Regions from separate parts of the Homo sapiens genome. Here all the other regions are linked to region 1. The links are contacts of gene promoters, found by promoter capture Hi-C in human tissues and cell types (Jung and others, 2019). All regions are on one chromosome and are shown on one strand. Each heading gives the region's core, a stretch centred on a gene start or on the middle of the fragment in contact. The rest is flanking DNA. Distances are from core to core; before and after follow the strand shown. Region 1 holds the start of COL6A2 (collagen type VI alpha 2 chain). Region 2 holds the start of SPATC1L (spermatogenesis and centriole associated 1 like). Region 3 has its middle 26 kb from the start of COL6A1.

Evidence for each region. Contacts are between HindIII fragments. The study calls those that stand out against the background at their distance.
Region 2: a contact is called between the fragment with the promoter of SPATC1L here and the fragment with the promoter of COL6A2 in region 1, in 3 of the 25 tissues and cell types used here (heart left ventricle, mesendoderm cells and thymus).
Region 3: a contact is called between a fragment that was not itself captured here and the fragment with the promoter of COL6A2 in region 1, in 7 of the 25 tissues and cell types used here (H1 embryonic stem cells, IMR-90 fibroblasts, heart left ventricle and 4 more).

What each region holds. Positions count from the first base shown.
Region 1 is chr21:46,096,739-46,099,646 of GRCh38, reverse strand. COL6A2 (collagen type VI alpha 2 chain) reads right to left here and starts at 1,535. Exons shown (of 28, transcript NM_001849.4): 1 at 1,474-1,535. COL6A2-DT (COL6A2 divergent transcript) reads left to right here and starts at 2,002. Exons shown (of 2, transcript NR_186433.1): 1 at 2,002-2,175. RefSeq lists an enhancer at 1,418-1,712. The HindIII fragment of the contact is 26,496 bases long and covers 1-2,908 here.
Region 2 is chr21:46,182,488-46,185,771 of GRCh38, reverse strand. It overlaps SPATC1L (spermatogenesis and centriole associated 1 like), which reads left to right and starts at 1,313. Exons shown (of 5, transcript NM_001142854.2): 1 at 1,313-1,416; 2 at 1,998-3,148. The coding sequence starts at 2,956. It overlaps LOC124905045 (a long non-coding RNA gene), which reads right to left and starts at 1,225. Exons shown (of 2, transcript XR_007067914.1): 1 at 585-1,225. RefSeq lists enhancers at 2,044-2,647, 2,648-3,251. The HindIII fragment of the contact is 12,071 bases long and covers 1-3,284 here.
Region 3 is chr21:46,006,257-46,009,051 of GRCh38, reverse strand. No RefSeq gene overlaps it. Among named protein-coding and RNA genes, the nearest start is that of COL6A1, 26 kb to the right of the region's middle. The HindIII fragment of the contact is 9,300 bases long and covers 1-2,795 here.

The DNA of each region.
Region 1 (2,908 bases), core at 286-2,785:
GGGTAGGGCCCCTTCCATGAGCAGCACCAGGACCCCTGCTTGTGGCGGGTGAGCCCCGCATCAGGCGCCCGACTTTGCATAAACGTGAAATAGGCCACAGGAGGCAGCAACTCAACGTGCAGGGCCGTGTTTAAGAGAAAGCATCTCACCGGGCCTTTCTTTCCTTTTTTTTTTTTTTTTTTTTTTTTTTTGAGACAGTCTCGCTCCCTCACCCAGGCTGGAGTGCAGTGGCGCGATCTCAGCTCACTGCAGCCTCCGCCTCCCAGGTTCAAGTGATTTTCTCCTGCCTCAGCCTCCCGATTAGCTGGGATTACAGGTGCCTGCCACCACGCCCGGCTAATTTTTTTTTGTATTTTTAGTAGAGACGGGGTTTCACCCTGTTGGCCAGGCTGGTCTCGAACTCCTGACCTCAGGTGATCTGCCCGCCTCGGCCTCCCCAAGTGTTGGGATTACAGGCGTGAGCCACCGTGCCCGGTCTGGCCTTTCTTGAAATAATCACCAGAGTCGAAGTGCAAGGGGGCCTCCAAGCCAGAGCTGTGTTATCCCAAGAACAAGGAGCTCCGCGGATCGCAGGCCCCTCCTTTCTGGGTTCCGACCCCAAAGGGAAGGTCCCTTCTCCAGGGGCGTCCTAGGCGCGGGCACCGGGGTTCTGCTGGCACAGCCCGGATGGGCGCCGCTCGCCCGCACACCTGCGGCTCCACAGAGGGCCGATCCGTTCGGTTGCCAGCAGTGGAGACCCAGGCCCAGCGGTTCCACCAGCGCCCCGGCGGAGTCCCAGGGCGGGTGTGGGCGGCCCGGCAGGGGCTGCGGGTCGCTGTCAGCCCGGGTCCCGCCGCCCTGGGGAGCCGCCTCCGTCTGCAGCTTCTCCTGGGCCTGGCGGGGCCCTGGTGGGCTCCAGGCCGGGAGGGGCGCAGCGATGGGGCGTCGGGGCCACCCGCGTCCCCTCCCCGCCCAGTCCCGCCCTCGGGCACCGAAAGCCCCTCCTCCCCCCGCCCCGCCGCCCCTTCCGTCCGGCCCGGGGAGAGGCCCTGCGCCCCCGGAGGTCCCAGCCAGCCGGGGCGTCTTCCCCGCGGGCCGGAGCCGGACCCGAACCGCTCGCAGACGCGGGGCCTGGCGGGGCGTGCGGTGCCGGGGTCGTCTCGGGAGCGGGGGTCCCAGCACCGAGCTCGGGCGCAGACAGGGACCCCCCCACCCCGCCCAGGCCGGCTCCGCCCCAGAGGAGGCCGCGGGGAGGTGGCCCCAAGTCGCGCGCCCGAGGGTCGGACCCAGAGACGCGGAGCCACAGGGGCAGGCGCGGCCCCAGCCCCGCGAGGAGGAGCCCCGAACCCGCCGAGCCCCCCGCCGTCCCTGGGGCTGGAGTCCCCCTTCCCGGGGACCCGAGGGACGGAGCCGCCGCCGCCGCCTTCCCAGGACTCGGGGTCACCCCCCGCGGGCCGAGCGGCTTCCAGGGTGCGGGGTCCGGGAGGCGCTCACCTGGTCCCGAGGAGGCTCCGCTCCCGACGGCCCGAGGCGCGGGCGCCGAGTAAGCAGCAGGGAGGGAACCGCGGCCGGCGCCGCCCCCTTTATACCCCGCCCCGCCGGCCTGACCCGCCCCGCCGCCAGGAAGCGCTGCGGCCCCGCGGATGGGAGGAGGGGGCCGGGGGCACGGGAGGGGGATGGGAGGGAAGCGGGGACCCTCGAGGGCGGGAGGCTGGAGGAGGTGGAGAGGGTGGGGACCCCCCTGCAGCCCGGGCCGAGCTCCCCCGCCAGCCCCTGCCCGCTGCTGCTCGGACTTCGCGTCCCGGGCCCGGCCGCCCGTCGCCCCCGCCCCATTTCCCGGACGACCTGGCTGGGGCTGTGTCCGCCTCCGGGGCCCTGGGTGTTGGGGACCGCGCCCCGCACGCAGGGCCGACGGGGGCCCTGGGACTCGCCCCTTGGTAGCAGCTGCCCTGGGGGGTGCAGGGTTCCCCCCATCAGCCCCCCGACCCCTCCCCTACCCCGTGTCCTGTGTCCGGCTTGCTCAGGCCTCCCGCGAGAGGCCCCGGGTCAGGAGCTCCTGCAGAAACTGCCGCTCCTGGGGCCTGAGGGTGGGGAGCCGGGAGGGCAGGGACAGCAGAGCCTGGGCGCGGAGGTTGGGGCAGAGCCTGGGCATGCGGCGAGCCACCCCTGCCACCCCTTTCCCGCTGGAAACCACAGGTGGGCTTGGTGCTGGGCCCTGGGACCACCGTGAGGTCCCCACCTGAGCCCAGCCGGGGACAGAGTGACAGGGGTCCCTGGTAGGGCTCTGTCTGGGGTCCCCACTCCCCACCCTGGTCACAGTCCCCCAGCCAGGGCCGGGGTTCCTCCTTGAGGTGAGGCGCAGCCGGGTTGGGGAGAGGTCCCTGGGCTCCGGGACAGGGCTCCCTTCAGAGCTGTCCTGGAAGGTGGCGGAGCGGCTGGGGGCGAGGTCCCTCTTCTGATGAGCAGGTTTGCAAATGTGGTGTGTGTGTGTGTCTGAGACTGAGTGTGTGTGGTGTGTGCATCTGAGTGTGTGGTGTGTGTCTGTGTCTGAGACTGAGTTTGAGTCTGTGGTGTGTGTATCTGTGTGTGGTGTGTGTCTGTGTCTGAGACTGTGTGCATCTGTGAGTGTGTGGTGTGTGTCTGCGTCTGAGGTTGAGTGTGAATGTGTGTGTCTAAGTGTGCCTGAGTGTGAGTGTATGTGCCTAAGTGTGCCTGAGTGTGGCAGCCACATGGTAGCCATGAGTCCAGGGCTCCTGCCTGCTGCTCCTGAGCACAGCTGACGGCGGGCACCGTGTGCCACTCCCCTGGGTCCATGCCGAACTCTCACCTGGGCAATGCCTCCTGCTTCCAAGCCAGCAGCTCCCAGGGGGAAGCCAGGCCCCTCCTCACAAGACCAGAATCCTTTAGGGGTTACCTTGGCTCCAGAAGT
Region 2 (3,284 bases), core at 64-2,563, 86 kb before region 1:
TACACCCCACAAATTCTAATGTCATGTTTTTATTCTCATTCAACTTGAAATATTCTCTGGTTTCCTTCGTGCTTTTGTCTTTTTCAAGACTTTTTTAAGAGGAGTTTTAGGTTCTTAGCAAAATTGAGAGGAAGATAGAGAGATTTCCCCACTCGCTGCCCCAACAAATGCACAGCCTCCCCTATTATCAACAAACTACCTGACAGCCACAATTGTCAGCAAAACGCACATGAGGGAAAAATATAAAATATAAGTAGCGTTGTATCTATTTAAGAAATTGATTTAGAAATTTAAAACTTTTCCAGAAGAAATCTAGTTCTAGATAGCTTCACAGATGAATTCTATCCGACGTTTAAGAAGGAACACCCAGAAAATGGCGCAGAATCTCTGCGGCTCATTTTAAAAGGCCAGTGTTCCAAAGCCAGACCGAGACATCACAAGAAAAGGAGATTCAGATCGACTTCCCCTGTGAGCATAAAAATACTTAAAATATTAATAAATTGAATCCAGCGCTATATTAAAAGGATAATGTGTCAAGACCAGAAAACTGTCAGAATGTTGATAGGTCCGTGGCTGGAGAGTACCTGACGTCAAGAGAAGGTTTCCTTGGAGCGGGAGGAAGACGGCATTTAAAATATGATGGGAGGAGCCAGGGCAGGAAAAGCCATTCAGGGCCCCGTCGGGCTCAGAGCGGGGGGCGCATCCGTGACTCATCCCTCGCTTCTCTCTCTGCCCTGCATCCTGGACGCCCTGCATGCCCTCGTCAGTGGGCTGTGGCTGGGCCCCCGTTGTCTTGATCTGAGGTGTGAGCCCTGTGGTGCAACACCAGGCTGGTTGGGTTGTGTCAGGAACGCTTGGGGTGTAGAAACCTCCTTTCTCCACAAAGCCTGACTCAAGACTTTCTCTCCTAGAAGCAACCTTCCCCTAATCTGGCCGCCCGGGCTGAATGAAGGTGGTGTTCTCCCAGGGGCATCTGCACCTGAGTGCCCTTGGTGGTCCTGAGTGCCCGTCACAGGGCTGGAGGTGTGGCCGGCCCACTGGGATGGTGGTGGTGGTGGGTGCCCATCACAGGGCTGGAGGTGTGGCCGGCCCACTGGGTTGGTGGTGGTGGGTGCCCGTCACAGGGCTGGAGGTGTGGCCGGCCCACTGGGTTGGTGGTGGTGGGTGCCCGTCACAGGGCTGGAGGTGTGGCCGGCCCACTGGGTTGGTGGTGGTGGGTGCCCGTCACAGGGCTGGAGGTGTGGCCGGCCCACTGGGTTGGTGGTGGTGGGTGCCCGTCACAGGGCTGGAGGTGTGGCCGGCCCACTGGGTTGTGCTTTCTGCCGTACGTCCCTTCCCATGAGGATGAGATGACCCATCTGTTGCATCCCGGCTGCTGATAAAACAAGACCCTCGGAGCCAAGAAACAACACTGAGGTGATTTACTTTCCCAAGTAATTGAAGCAGGGAGTCAGGGTGGGTTTCAAGTCGGTCGCACTGACTGAGGACAGACGCCTGCTCTAGCAGGGCCCCATGAGCCGCAGCCCTGTGTGACGGCCCGAGGGGCCGTGGCCATGGGTTGGGGGCGTCCTCAGTTACGTGCAGGCAGGAGCAGTGCAGTCAGGAACAATTGGTGTCTTAGACACGGGCGCTCGTGGTCTGAGGGGTGGACATGCACTGCTGGACCCTTCTCATCAGGGAGTGAGGTCAGTAGGTGGCCTCCAGCCCAGCCCTCAGGGCCACCCAGTGCTCCAAAGCATGTGGGGGCCATCGTGGGGCTGCCTCAGGCTGGTCTCCCCACCCTAGGCTGGTCTCCCCCGCAAGACTGGTCTCCTCCCCCAGGCTGGTCTCCCCCACAAGGCTGGTCTCCTCCCCCAGGCTGGTCTCCTCACCAGGCTGGTCTCCTCCCCCAGGCTGATCTCCCCGCCCAGGCTGGTCTCCCCCGCAGGCTGGTCTCCCCCGCAAGCTGGTCTCCTCCCCCAGGCTGGTCTCCTCACCAGGCTGGTCTCCTCCCCCAGGCTGATCTCCCCGCCCAGGCTGGTCTCCCCCGCAGGCTGGTCTCCCCCGCAAGCTGGTCTCCTCCCCCAGGCTGGTCTCCTCACCAGGCTGGTCTCCTCCCCCAGGCTGATCTCCCCGCCCAGGCTGGTCTCCCCCGCAGGCTGGTCTCCCCCACAAGGCTGGTCTCCTCCCCCAGGCTGGTCTCCTCACCAGGCTGGTCTCCTCCCCCAGGCTGATCTCCCCGCCCAGGCTGGTCTCCCCCGCAGGCTGGTCTCCCCCGCAAGCTGGTCTCCCCTGCAGGCTGGTCTCCTCCCCAGGCTGGTCTCCCCCGCAGACTGGTCTCCCCCACAAGCTGGTCTCCCCACCAGGCTGGTCTCCCCCACATGCTGGTCTCCTCCCACTGCCCTTGCCAGTCCCTCCCTCCTCAAGTGTGGGTGCCAAGGACGGACCCTGATGAACACCTGCACATCAGTTGCTGCCCTGGGTGCCAGGGTCCACAGGAAGCTGCACTGGGAACCCTGTGTCCTGGGCAGGTCCTATGGGAAGTGCAGCCCACATGTTACTCGGGTGAAGGCAGCGTCCCCACCCAGCTTGAGGACACCACACAGGGTGGACACCCGACCCTGGCTGGGCCGCTCAATGGGGAGTGGCTTGGACGCCCCTCTTGGAGTACAGTCGCTACATCCCGTAGCTGCCTAATGTCCTTGGCATTCTCGGGCCCTGGTCATAATGTGGGAGTGGCTGCCTGTGCACGCCACGGGCCTCCAGCTTCACTGCCTCAACGGGGCCATGAGCCATCGCGGGGGCAGGCAGGGTGCTGGGCACCTCATCACTAGGGCAGTGACATCACAAGGCGTGGAAGGCGGTGGTGGCTACGGAACTCCGTGCCTGGGCTGTTTCTGTGGTGCCTGCGGGCTCTGGGCTCCCACCTCCATGGGGCTGCAGGAGCCGTGAGGGACAAGGAGGGACGCACCCGCCATGGCTGAAGGCGGCGAGCTGATGAGCCGGCTCCTGAGCGAGAACGCGGACCTGAAGAAGCAGGTGCGCCTCCTGAAGGAGAATCAGATGCTGCGGCGGCTGCTCAGCCAGAGCTGCCAGGAGGGCGGCGGCCACGACCTGCTCCCACCCAGGGCGCATGCCTACCCTGAGGCCGGCTCCCCCGGGAGCGGAGGTGAGGCGCCGCCCAGCTCAGATGGCCTGGTAGATGAGGGGGTCGCGGGACGCCTGCTCCCCGGGAGTCGAGGGTGGCGGCCAGCTCCCTGATGCGGGAGGTCACGGGCACCTTTCACACCCTCAGGTCTGAGTAA
Region 3 (2,795 bases), core at 131-2,630, 90 kb after region 1:
GGAGCCTGCTCTGACCTAGGAGTCAAGGAGCCATGCTGTGGATGGTCCAGGAAGGACTGGGGTCTCTGACCACTCAGAGTATCAGGGTGACAGGCTTTGCCCTCCTATCTGGAGACTTCGTGTGATGATCTGAAACACCACTCAGAGCATCAGGGTGACTGGCTTTGCCCTCCTATCTGGAGACTTGGTGTGATGATCTGAAACATCACTTTTCTAAACTGGGAACAAGTGTGGGCCTGATGGGCTAAGGTTTCTTTCCTATTTTTTCAAAGTTGAGCTGTTCTGTGTGGGGAACGTCCAGAACAAAAGGGGGTCCTAGCCTCTCCTCCTGACCTGGGAGGCCACAGGTGAGAAGCACAGTGCGGCCACCAGCTTGGAGGATGGTTCAGGGATCAAGGCACTTCCCTTCTTGAAGCAGGTGATACTGTTCGGCTCCGTGTCCCCACCCACATCTCATCTCAAATTGTAATCCCCACGTGTTGAGGGAGGGAGGTGGCTGGATCCCGGGGGTGGCCTCCCCCGTGCTGTCCTTGTGATAGTGAGTGAGTTCACATGTGATCTGATGGCTTTATAAGTGTTTGGAAGTTCCTCCTTCATGCTTCTCTCTCCTGCTGCCATGTGAAGAAGGACGTGTTTGCTTCCCCTTCTGCCGTGATTGTAAATTTCCTGAGGACTCCCCAGCCATCTGGAACTGTGAGTCAATGGAATCTCTTTTCGTTATAAATCACCCAGTCTTGGCCACGCACGGTGGCTCACGCCTGTAATTCCAGCACTTTGGGAGGCCGAGGTGGGAGGATCACGAGGTCAGGAGATCGAGACCATCCTGGCTAACACGGTGAAACCCTGTCTCTACTAAAAATAAAAAAAAAAAAATTAGCCAGGCATGGTGGCGGGCGCCTGTAATCCAGCTACTTGGGAGGCTGAGGCAGGAGAATGGCGTGAACCCGGGAGGCGGAGCTTGCAGTGAGCCTAGATCGCGCCACTGCACTCCAGCCTGGGCAACAGAGCAAGACTCTGTCTCAAAAAAAAAAAAAACAAAAAACAAAAAAAATCACCCAGTCTTGGGCAGTTCTTTAGAGCAGTGTGAGAATGGCCGAATGCACGGGGAAACTCACATTCGTGGCTTCTCACATCCCTTCAGGAAGAGGGTCTTGGGCACACACTGGACACAGCAGCCCTAAGGCCCCTTGGCTGAGGTGTTTTAGTACCAAATCCAGAGCCTTGGGCTGGTCCTCTTGGGTTGACCTAGTTGGATCTGGCCTGCGCCAGCCCATCCAGGCCTGATTTGCTCCTGACCCTGAAGCCCAGGGTGTCGGAGCCCCAGCTCCTGGGAGGAGTGGGAAGGAGAGGGAGAGATGTGGGTGGCCAGAGAGCCCCCAAGGGATTCCAGTGGGGATGCAGGGGCTCAGCCAGCATCGCCATCCCAACACACAGGGTGCTTGGGGATGAACCAAGGCTGGGACCTGATGGTGGGGTCTCCGTGCCTGGGAGGCAAGGGTGGCTGTGATAGGGCAGGGGGCTGTTGCAGGGGGTTGCCCAGAGTCCTGCCAGCCTGAAAAAAGTAGTTTTGCTGTTGAATTGTCTGATTATTTGGGGCCGAGGGGCCTCCAGGCCTGAGGCAGGACGTGCACATGGGAGCTGGGGCCTGGGGGCCACGGAGCAGGGGCCGCAGGGGCTGAGGCTGTGCCACGGGTGTCCGGAGCCTGGCCAGGTGTCAGTCCAGTGGGAGGTGTGGGGGCCACGGTGACCGGCCGTGGGAGTGTGTGTCCCTCCTGTGCCTCAGTTTCTACAAGATGAGAGGCCGGGACCTTGGAGTCTGCCCCCACAGGAAGTGTGAGGTGCAGTGTGAGACCAGGAGCTTCCCTGGGCCCCGTGGGGGTCTGCGTGGTGGCTGGGGGTTCTGCATGGCAACCCGGGCCTTGGTAACCCCCACCGCCCCTCCTGCCTGGAATCCTGGTGACCCAGGCGTTGGGGGATGGGAATGCCCGCAGGTGAGGATGGGTTGAGGTTCAGGAGAAACCCCGCCGGGACTTGGGAACAGGGGCCCCACCTCAAGGCCCCCCTGAACCCAGTGTGCAGCCCAGGGGTGACCCGGAGAGGTCCGTGAAGGACGGGCGCAGAGGAAGGGGGTCCCATAGAGAGCACTTGGGAGAGACCCTCTCACCAGGGTCCCTGGGCCTCCTCCAGGACAGGCCGCTCCCCTCTGGTCGCCCCAGCCTCCTCCCAGCCCCTGCCAGGCATGGGCCGCCGGCCGTGTGGGCACGAGGGGCCTGGGCCTCGCCACAACCCTCTCAGGTGGGTGCCATGGAGTCCTTCACCCAGCTTACAGGGGAGGAAGCCGGGACGAGGGCTCAGGGCCGGCTCGGGGTCACCTGGCCGTATACAGCGCAAAGCAACTGGGATGGGGAAGAGCGGGCCTGGGCCGGAGCTGTGTGGGGGCTGGGGCTGGAGGAAGCCTCTCCGAGGACCTTGCAGGGTAGCCTGGGCACGGGGAGGCTCCACGCAGAGTGTGGGCCTCAGCGCCGTGAGGGACCGTCCCGCTGGCCAAGTCCAGCCCTTGTCGCGCCAGGGCCGCAGCTGCAGTGCGAATCCCATGAGGCAGCTGAGAGAGGCTGGCAACTGCCTCACTGCGTCTGCCCCGGGCCCCGCCCACCGCCTCACTGCGTCTGCCCCGGGCCCCGCCCACCGCCTCACTGCGTCTGCCCCGGGCCCCTCCCACCGCCTCACTGCATCTGCCCCGGGCCCCGCCCACCGCCTCACTGCATCTGCCCCGGGCCCCGCCCACCGCCTCACTG